Regions from separate parts of the Homo sapiens genome. Here region 2 is linked to region 1. Evidence: promoter capture Hi-C in 16 types of primary human blood cells and fetal thymus (Javierre and others, 2016). All regions are on one chromosome and are shown on one strand. The core of a region is centred on a gene start or on the middle of the fragment in contact, and the rest is flanking DNA. Distances in the headings are between cores, read along the strand shown. Region 1 holds the start of NTSR1-AS1 (NTSR1 antisense RNA 1). Region 2 overlaps LOC124904949 (a long non-coding RNA gene).

Region 1 (4,430 bases), core at 788-3,287:
ACACGCATCCTAGGGTGGGGTGGGTGAATGCTTTCTGTGAAGGTCCAGAGAGTGAGTCACTGTGGCTTCGTGGGCCGGAGGATCTCAACTTTTGAGCAGAACCACTCACTGTGGCCGCTGTGGCCAACACAGCCATAGCAGTACGTACATGAGCAGGTGGGGCTGAGTGCTGATGAAACTTTACAACTCCAGGTGGGTCTGGGTTGGCCCCGTCCTCACGAACACGGGGCTGATCATCGCACCATCCATCCGGGAAAGACTGGGCCCAGGCCAAGTGTGTGAGTCCATTTTCGCACTGCTCTAAAGAACTGCCGAGACTGTGTAGTTTATAAAGGAAAGAGGTTGAATTGACTCACAGTTCTGCAGGGCTGGGGGAGCCTCAGGAGACCTACAATCATGGTGGAGGGAGAAGCAGGCACTTTCTTCACTGGGCAGCAGGACGGTGTGAGTGACAGCAGGGCAAACGCCAGACGCTTCTAAAACCATCAGATCTCATGAGATTCACTCTCACAAGAACTGCCTGGGGGAACCGCCCCCACGATCCAGTCACCTCCCCCTGGTCCTGCCCTTGACACGGGGCATTATGGGGATTACAATTCCCATGAGATTTTGGGTGGGGACACAGCCAAACACATCACGAAGTAACTCCTACGCCAGGTGTGTGCATGTGGCCTGGGCCCTGGTCACAGATGGAAAATGAAGCAGTAAAACAGAGGAGGGTCTCAGCTTGCGGGTCCTATGCTGAGGGTCCAGGTTGTTCCCTGGGAGCCACAGGCCAGGGCCTCGGAGTCCTCGGAGTCCTCGCTGGGAAAGGGGCTCTGCTGGAGGTTTGGGCCCGCCCTGCATAGCTGGGAGCCCTCTCTTTGCCCCACCCACAGGTGGAAGCCACTTCCCTCCTCTCCCAAACCCCCTCTCCTGGTTCCCCAGTTGGAGTGATCCACAGAGGAGATTCTGCGTCTAAACTGGGACTCAGGGAAGCTTCTGGAACTGTGAGAGGGGTTTGGTTCCTGCCTTTCTGAAGACAAAGTGGCGCCTGTCTTTCAGGGCATTGCGCCTGAGGGTACAGAGAGTGGGGCTCTGCCTCTGGGGTCCCAGGGTCTCCCCAGCTGCCAAGGGCAGCAGCCCCAGACCCAGACAGGGAAAGGAGCCTGGCTTCCCTTCCCGCCCTGCTCCATGGGGCAAGTGCAGAGAATCCCCAGCCACGATGCCCCTGCCCGAGGCACCCCAGGCTCCAGGCAGATCTCAGGCCTCCTAACCCAGGCCCTGCCCCGAAGGGACAAGTTTCAGAACAAACTGTCCACTGGGCTAATACCCCGGCTTTTGTGATCACCACATACTGATTTCTATCGAGGGATGAAAATTGACAAATTTAAACGGGAATTACTGGGCTCGGAAATTTGTTCTTTGTAATGAAGGGAACAGTTGAATACAGAATCTGAATTTGGGATTCAGACCAGACCCCCTCAGAGAAAGTGCTGAACCCGTGAGGAATTGGAGGGTAAGGGGAACTGTTCTTGGCAACTCCTGTCCCATTTCCTTTTGGGATGGGGGCTGCTCCCGCCCCCTGCACAGCCCCACAGGTCACAGCGGGGAAGACCCTGTCCCTGGTCCCCGGTCGCAGTGTGTGCCCTTTCCTACTTCCCTGCACGCCAGCCTCAGGAGGTGAGCTCACCTCGCCGTGTCGGGGGGACTCCCGTGTTACCCACCCCCCAAGCCAGGGAGCGGCCTCCAGGGGAGCATGGGGGAGGCTGAGGCCACCTTGCGGGGAGGCTGTTCCTGGGGCTGGGACGCCTCTCTCTGAATCATCCCCGCCCACAGAAGGAATTCATCTCACTCCTAATAATGTGTTTGTCACAAAGACATAATCGGCTCATCTGTGAGACTCCAGCGTGCACAGCGGTGCTGGCTCTTTGTTGTATAGTGGCAGTCTCACTGCAAGGCCGTTGGGCTTTGAGGAAAGGGAAGGAGGCACCCACTCTCTCCCCGGGGGGCCCCTGCCTTCCCTCGCAGTCCCACCTCTTCCGCCTGCCTCCATCACAGCAATTCAAATAACTATGAATGGGGCTACCTGGGAGCCCCACATCCCTGGCTGTGGGAACAGGCTGACCTTCCAGCACAGTGTCCTCCTGGTGCCAGGCACTGCCCCTCTGCCAAGGACCCTGCAGGCCTGGTAGGTCCCCAAGGGCACCCGTGGCCTCCCACCCCCTAACCATGGTTTTGGCACTGAGCTGGCGGCCAGGCGGGGCAGAGGAGGGAGCTGAGCGTCTTTCTTTAGTGTGCACGTCACCGCACACGATGGCACCCCACTGGTTGCTGCCCATCATGCAGGGCTGCCTCCACATGGGGCCTCAGCACCGGCTGGTGCCTGGCACCCCGCACGCGGCACCCCACCCCAAGGGGAGGCTGTACAGGCTCTGGACACACCCCAAAGCCACCCGAGGGCTGCTTCTCATCAGCAGGGAGGGGCTCGGGCAGCACAGTCCCGTGGAAATAGGATGCAGGCCACGTGAGGCTTAAATGTACCAGTAGCTATGTTACAAAAGTGGAAGGAAACAGCTATGATAATTTTAATACGATATCTTATTTAACTTAATGTATTCAAAATATCATATCAACTTGCAACGGTATTAGTGAGCTATTGTATACCGCCTTTCCGCATTAACTCTAAAACCCGGTGCGGATTTCAGGCTGAAGCTCATCTTCACTCAGACCAGCCATGTCTCAATGCCCAGTGGCCACGTGTGGCCCAGGGCTGCCACATTAGACAGGGCTGCCTGCAGCTTTTATGGGAAGCCACCTGGGCCAGGCACACCAGCGCCTGCTCCTCGCTCCCCAGGGGTGGTCTTGGCCCCAGCTCTGCTCAGCAGAGAACCCAGAGCCTCCAGGTCAGCCCCGGACACAGGGCGTGGGCATTGCACAAGGTCAAGAATGAGTTACTCATTTTCAACCACCTAAAAAGATGGCCCCAAAATGAAGCCTGGGTAAGACAAGGGGCCACGTCCTTCCAGGAGCAGAGCTCGGCTTCCTCTGCATCGGCCACAAAGCCCCTACTGCACCGAAGCCCAAGAGCTGAGCCAAGATTTTTTTTTTTTTTTGCGGGGAAGGGGGTCACACTCCAGAGAAGGCTCCAGAAAAGCTCTCATCCCAGACCTCGCTGCCTCCGCCCGCCCCTCACGCCCCATCTCTTGCCCGTCCCCCACCAGGGCTGAAGAGTGAACTCAGTAGTAACCCACGTGGCTGAGCCAGAGAAGGAGGCTGCGCAGGGGACAAGGCGGTCGCTTCCAGGATGAGAAGCGCAGACTCGAGGTCGGGCAAACCTGCCGCCGGCCCCAGCCGTGTGCATCTGAGCAAGTGGCTTCCCCCAGCCTCAGGCTCCTCATCTGTGAAACGAAACCCCCTCCAAGCTGGGCTGGCTCAGCACCCAAAACCATCATTTAAAATGCGACCCTGCCTGGGGGCTGTTCGAATCCTCTATTGAGATAAAGTAGCAATCATACATTCATCAGTCACTACTCCCTGCTGGAGGCCTCTTCCCCAGCACAGAGCCTTCCCTCTCTCAGCTGAGACCCCAGGCAAGGGTAGGGAGAAGAGGGTGCTGTCTCCCTCCCCCTCCTCCCCTCTCTCTCCTCTGTTCCTCCCTTTCTCTCTGTGTCTCTCTCTCCTTCTCTCCCTCTCTTTGTGTTTCTCCCTCTGTTTCTCTCTCTGCCTTTCCCTCTCTCCTCTCTTTCCTTTTCTCTCTCCCTCTCTCTTCTCTATCTCCCTCTTTTTCTCCATGTGTGTATCTCTCCTCCCCATCCCCAGAAGCCAGCCCACATGGCTCACCCTGCATTGCTAGGTGAGACAGGCCTGAGCCCTAAGCCAGGAGTCAGCCACAGCCGAGCTTTCCAGAACTTTCTAGAACCTTCCCTTTCCAAAGTGGAAATCTGGACTAGAAGGCACGATTCCCACTGGGGAGCTGCCAGTGGCTCCCTGCCCAAGGGAAACACAACTGTCCCGAGAGATGCTCATTTGCTCCCGGAAAGGAGCGCAGCAAGCTTCAACCAAGTGCTTCAGGAGGGAACCAAGAGCTTCATTCTTCCCTAATTGGTGCTAATTTTCAGCCTTCCCAGAGCTGTGCCTGGGAGGTGCAGAGGTGCCTCCAGGGTGGCCCTGCGGGGACCGGGATGCACATTTCTCTGTTAGGCTGGTAATCAGCTTGCATTTTCTCTGACAGATCTTCTTCCGAAAGAACGTCTACACACTGCCGATGACATTTACTTCACTCAGAATTTGCAAGTCCAATGCCGACATGAATATGCACGGCACTGCTGCTTGGATACGTGGCCTCAGGGCCACGCCTGCGGGTGATGTGACAAGTCCACAGACTCCCGTGGCGGCTTCTCACCGAGAAACATTCCAGCACCTGGAGGCTGCCAGCTGGGAACCCCCTT
Region 2 (4,286 bases), core at 413-2,912, 96 kb after region 1:
TTCATTCCTGACACTGCCCTTTAAGAGAAAAAAGTACCCACATTGTTCCCAGATGGAGAGGGTCCCTCCCAGAGGGTGAGGCACTGCCACAGGGGCTCACGGCCCTGCCAGGAGTGGAAGGTGCACACCCAGAAGTATTTCTCCTGTGAAGGAAGGGGGCTGAGCTTCGCTGCAGACCTGGCCTCAGGTGTGGATGAGCTTCGCTGCAGACCTGGCCTCAGGTGCGGAGTCTGCGGGAGCAGCATTTCCAGGCAGACCTGACAGAAGGTGCCTTTGAGAGGTGGTGAGCTCCGTGTTACAGGAGGCTTGTGAGCACAGGTAGCCCATCTTCTGGTGATGATGCTGGAGAAGCAATTCAAATGTCAGAAGCAGGACTGGACTCTGTTTCCAAAACTCACGTCTGGATTCTACCCCCTGAAAACATTATTTACACAATGTTTTTCCTTTAAACAATTCACACATTTGATTAAAAGGGTAAGTTTATTTTTTAAAAAGTCAGTGTCAATTACCACAAAGAGGTCACCATAAAAATAGATAAAAAGAAACAAAATGGCATTAAATTCTAGCCAAATATTGCTGCCTGTGGAGGGCTCCCGGCCTGAGACCCGCCTCAGACCCCACCAGGCATTCTTTGGGATTCCTGCATAGGCACCATTGGAAAGGTAAATCCAGAGCAAACATTTCAGGTACATTCGTGCAAAATGCAGGCCCTCAGTCCTGTCCTCAAAGGCAAATGCTGGTGCCCAGGCTCCTCAAGAGGCCCCTAGGAGCACCAGGAGGCCTTGACCCAGGTGAAGGGTCCTGCCGCAGGCCATCAAGGGGGTCTGCAGGTCTGGCCCAACTCCAGGCCCTGCGTGGTGGGGTCCATCTGCACCAGCTTTCGGGAGCCGACTGTGTCCTTACTCTTGCCCTAGAGGACTCGGGGGTCAGCTACAGAGCACAGCAGTGTCTTGGAACAAGGGCAGCCTGATTATGTGCCCTGGAACATTCTGAACTCAATAAGTTCTATCCCAGCAGGGCTTTTTTTCTTTCTTTTCTTTTTTTTTTTTCTTTTTTGAGAGGAAATAATTAAAAGAAAAAGAAAGCGAGAACCCCCTGGCTCCCCTGTGGCCTTGCAGGGTCGTACTGCTGCCTGTCCGGGCGGCTTCAGGAGGCTCGGAACAGATGCTGCACATTTGTGGGCCACTTACTGTTCTCTGACATCATCTTTAGAGGCACCTCAAAGAGCTGAAATGTGACAGCCTGTATTTCCACCTCCCTCTCTCTTTATGGACATTGTCACTTGGAGGAAAATCGATCTAAAGATCAGAAGAGAAGTGTAGAGAGAGAAGAGAGAGAAACGCTGTCAGGTCAAGGGGCAGGTTAATGGCCAACCCAGAAACAGCGTGGGATCCCGGTGCCTCTGCCTGGAGGGTCCAGCCTGGAACACACATCATTCCTAGCTTTGACCAGGAATGGTATCCAAAAAATGACCTCACTTAGCTATTAGTACTTGATTGGGATAATACTTAAAATCCTGCTAATATTTCTGTGGTTGCTTCCATTCTGTAGTCATAGTTCATTTCTATTTTCTATGAATTTGGCGTATGTCTTAGCCAACTCATTTGAAACTGCCTGTCCTTCCTTGACTTATAAAAAAATGGCCATTTCAGCTTCGTGATAATGGGCAAGTCTCAGAAATGATGAAAACATCATTTAATTGTTTCATTATTTCAAAGTCTCAGGCTGTGGCCATGTGGTGGAGGCTCTAGAGAAAGTTTCTAAAAAATATTTTAAAAGTTACGACTGCACTGTTTTGCATGAGAAAGAGGATTTTGCTAAAGATTGAAGGCGATCGGGCTGCAGGCGAAATGTGGCTTGAAGTCCCCAGCTCCAGAGTGGCACGTTTCAGTCTGTTAAATGCTGTGTTCAGGTGAGGAGTTAGGATCATGGTACAACCCAGATGTGGGCTGGCGGCTGGCACACAGCTTAGCAAAGAAGAGACGCACAAGGCCAGAGTGGCCTTAGGAAAAACTCAGCCTGGAGTTGTCCAAATGTCCGCGATGGAGGAGTTTCATGGGGGAATTAAGATTGTCAGGTTAGGGAAGGGCACAGGTAGCTGGGAGGCTCTTTGGTAGCAAAATTCCATAGAAGATAAAAAGCATGTTCTCTCTTGGAAATCATCAGTCCATCCTGTCGGAGCCCCTTTGGAGCAGGGTGTGGCTGGAGGGCCTGGCTTGCTGGCCACGCCTCAGTCACAGCATTGGCTTTCCTGCGCTTCTGCTTCCTGCTCTTCCCGGTGATCTGCGTCCTGCGGGGCGCACAGCAAGCCCTCCGTGGGACGAAGATCTTCGTCTTCCATCCACGCTGCTTTGCTCACCTGCGACATGACCTGAGGCTCTGGCCCTGCTGAGCTGGGCCCTTGGCCAGTGCTGTACAAACGCCATCCACCATCTGGTGACAGCAGCCTAGCAATTGACCAACAGAGGCCTCCCACTGTCCTCCCTCCTGCCGCCCTCCCTCTGCATCTCCCAGAGCAGGACGACTCCAGGGAGACAGACTCAATTCAATCTTTTTCTGTTTCAGAGAATCTGTCACCATTAAAAGCAGCTACCAGGGAATCTGATTCCATTGCACCAGGTCTCAGGTCTCAGGTCTCAGGCGTTCTTCCAAAATGCTGGTGGATGGTGGGCTCTCGCCCTGGGATTATAGATGCCCAGATAAACCATATGTAAATAACACTGCATTTAACCCGCCGACAAAGGGTGGCCTTCTTGACGGTGGTGAAGGAAGTTTTGACCCAGGAGAACAGAGGTCGTCATTCACAAGCACTAGGGTCCGGTGAAAGCACAGGCTTCAGCGTCTGGACAGGCAGCTACATGACGGTATCATGTTCTCTTTAGAAGCCACCAACTGATTCCTGTGTGTTCAGAGCCTGCTGTTAGAGATTAGGTGTGGGGTAGAAAAAATTGGAATCTGGACTTCCCTGCCTGGCGAGATGGCCCTGAGCTCTGAGACATGACCTGAGGACACCTGGAGTGCCCTGAGTTCCAGGGGACACATAGCAGCCAAGTGGGGAAGAGGCCACTGAATGCCGGTGGCTCCGTGGCAAAGGCACATGGAGCTGTAGGAAGAGACATGCTGGGGCCCCCAGCACCTGGAGAGCAGCAGCCCTGTCCACACCTGGGGCCTTGGCTGCCCACAGCCTCTCTAGAAGGGTCATCTGAATTTCACTGGTGATCTGCTTGTGAGGTCTTCTGCATACACTCTTACTTACAAAGAGGCAAACGTCTGCCAGCCCAAGGGCTTCTGGAACTGCCTCGGTCTGCCTGGCTCCTGAGCCTCCCCGCGGGTCTGGGGGTGGAGGTGTTCACAGGGTTCACTTGGCTGAGACCTCACATTCTGGAAGGGCCTCGTGTTAGGTGAGTGATTATCTTAGCTTCCAATACAACTGTGCATGCAGTCCGGACCCGCCGAGGCACAGACCCATCAGGTCTTCTGCTAACTCTCATCCCGGCCCACCCAGCATGACTAGCAAGATTATATTGCATTGAGAGTGTTTACAGTAAAAGCGTTAAATGTAATCATTTACCTTGTTGGCGATTGTTTGCAGCCCTCTTTGAGCATTCATTCCCTCATGTTTCATTTGCTGAGACTTTGGCAAATGGAAGTGGGCAGTCCCTGTCCCCATCTCCAGGGCCCTGCCTTGGCACCTTCCCCACCAAGCTGACACCTCTGTGAGCTTCAGAGAAGCTAGAAGCTTTGGAGCTTTGTCCAAGGACATGGACACCCCATTGCAGCCTCACTCACTTGGGGGTGAAAGGAAGGTGACCTGCCCAGCCCTTTCAAAGTTCCCTGACAATGTGCAGAGCTCCCTGGCTGTGTGCAGAGCTCGCTGACCGTGTGCAGAGTTCCTGGCTGTGTGCAGAGATCCCTGATGGTGTGCAGAGTTCCTGGCCGTGTGCAGAGCTGGCTGACCATGTGCAGAGCTCCCTGGACGTGTGCAGAGATCCCTGGCCATGTGCAGAGCTCATTGTTGGGGGAAGTCAGGTGATAGAACCCAGAGGCACAAAAACAGGGATGCCCACAGGTCCCTGAGATTCCTTCTTGGGCGGTGTCTGCTGTCCCCAGGGTCCCGTGACCGTGGAAGGCACCATGACCATGTCCATCTTGTGCCAACCTGCTCTGCCCTGGAACATGTTGCCCAGGGCCTGGGTGGACTGTCAGAGCTAGTGAACGATATTTAAGCCTACACAGGGGCAAGGAATCTTCCAGAACTTTCTGTGTTTAGGTGCCACGCAGTCAGC

Evidence for each region. The method cuts DNA at HindIII sites, captures the fragments that hold promoters and counts their contacts. A CHiCAGO score of 5 or more calls a contact.
Region 2: a fragment that was not itself captured here is called in contact with the fragment with the promoter of NTSR1-AS1 in region 1 in 1 of 17 cell types (monocytes); the score reaches 5.7 in monocytes.

Annotation. Positions count from the first base shown.
Region 1 is chr20:62,732,966-62,737,395 of GRCh38, reverse strand. It overlaps NTSR1-AS1 (NTSR1 antisense RNA 1), which reads left to right and starts at 2,037. Exons shown (of 2, transcript NR_199009.1): 1 at 2,037-2,170; 2 at 4,214-4,430. The region is part of intron 1 of NTSR1 (neurotensin receptor 1); the gene reads right to left. RefSeq lists an enhancer at 1,768-2,613. The HindIII fragment of the contact is 3,056 bases long and covers 981-4,036 here.
Region 2 is chr20:62,636,922-62,641,207 of GRCh38, reverse strand. It overlaps LOC124904949 (a long non-coding RNA gene), which reads left to right. Exons shown (of 2, transcript XR_007067711.1): 2 at 1-3,563. Among named protein-coding and RNA genes, the nearest start is that of SLCO4A1, 3.4 kb to the left of the region's middle. The HindIII fragment of the contact is 4,159 bases long and covers 1-3,741 here.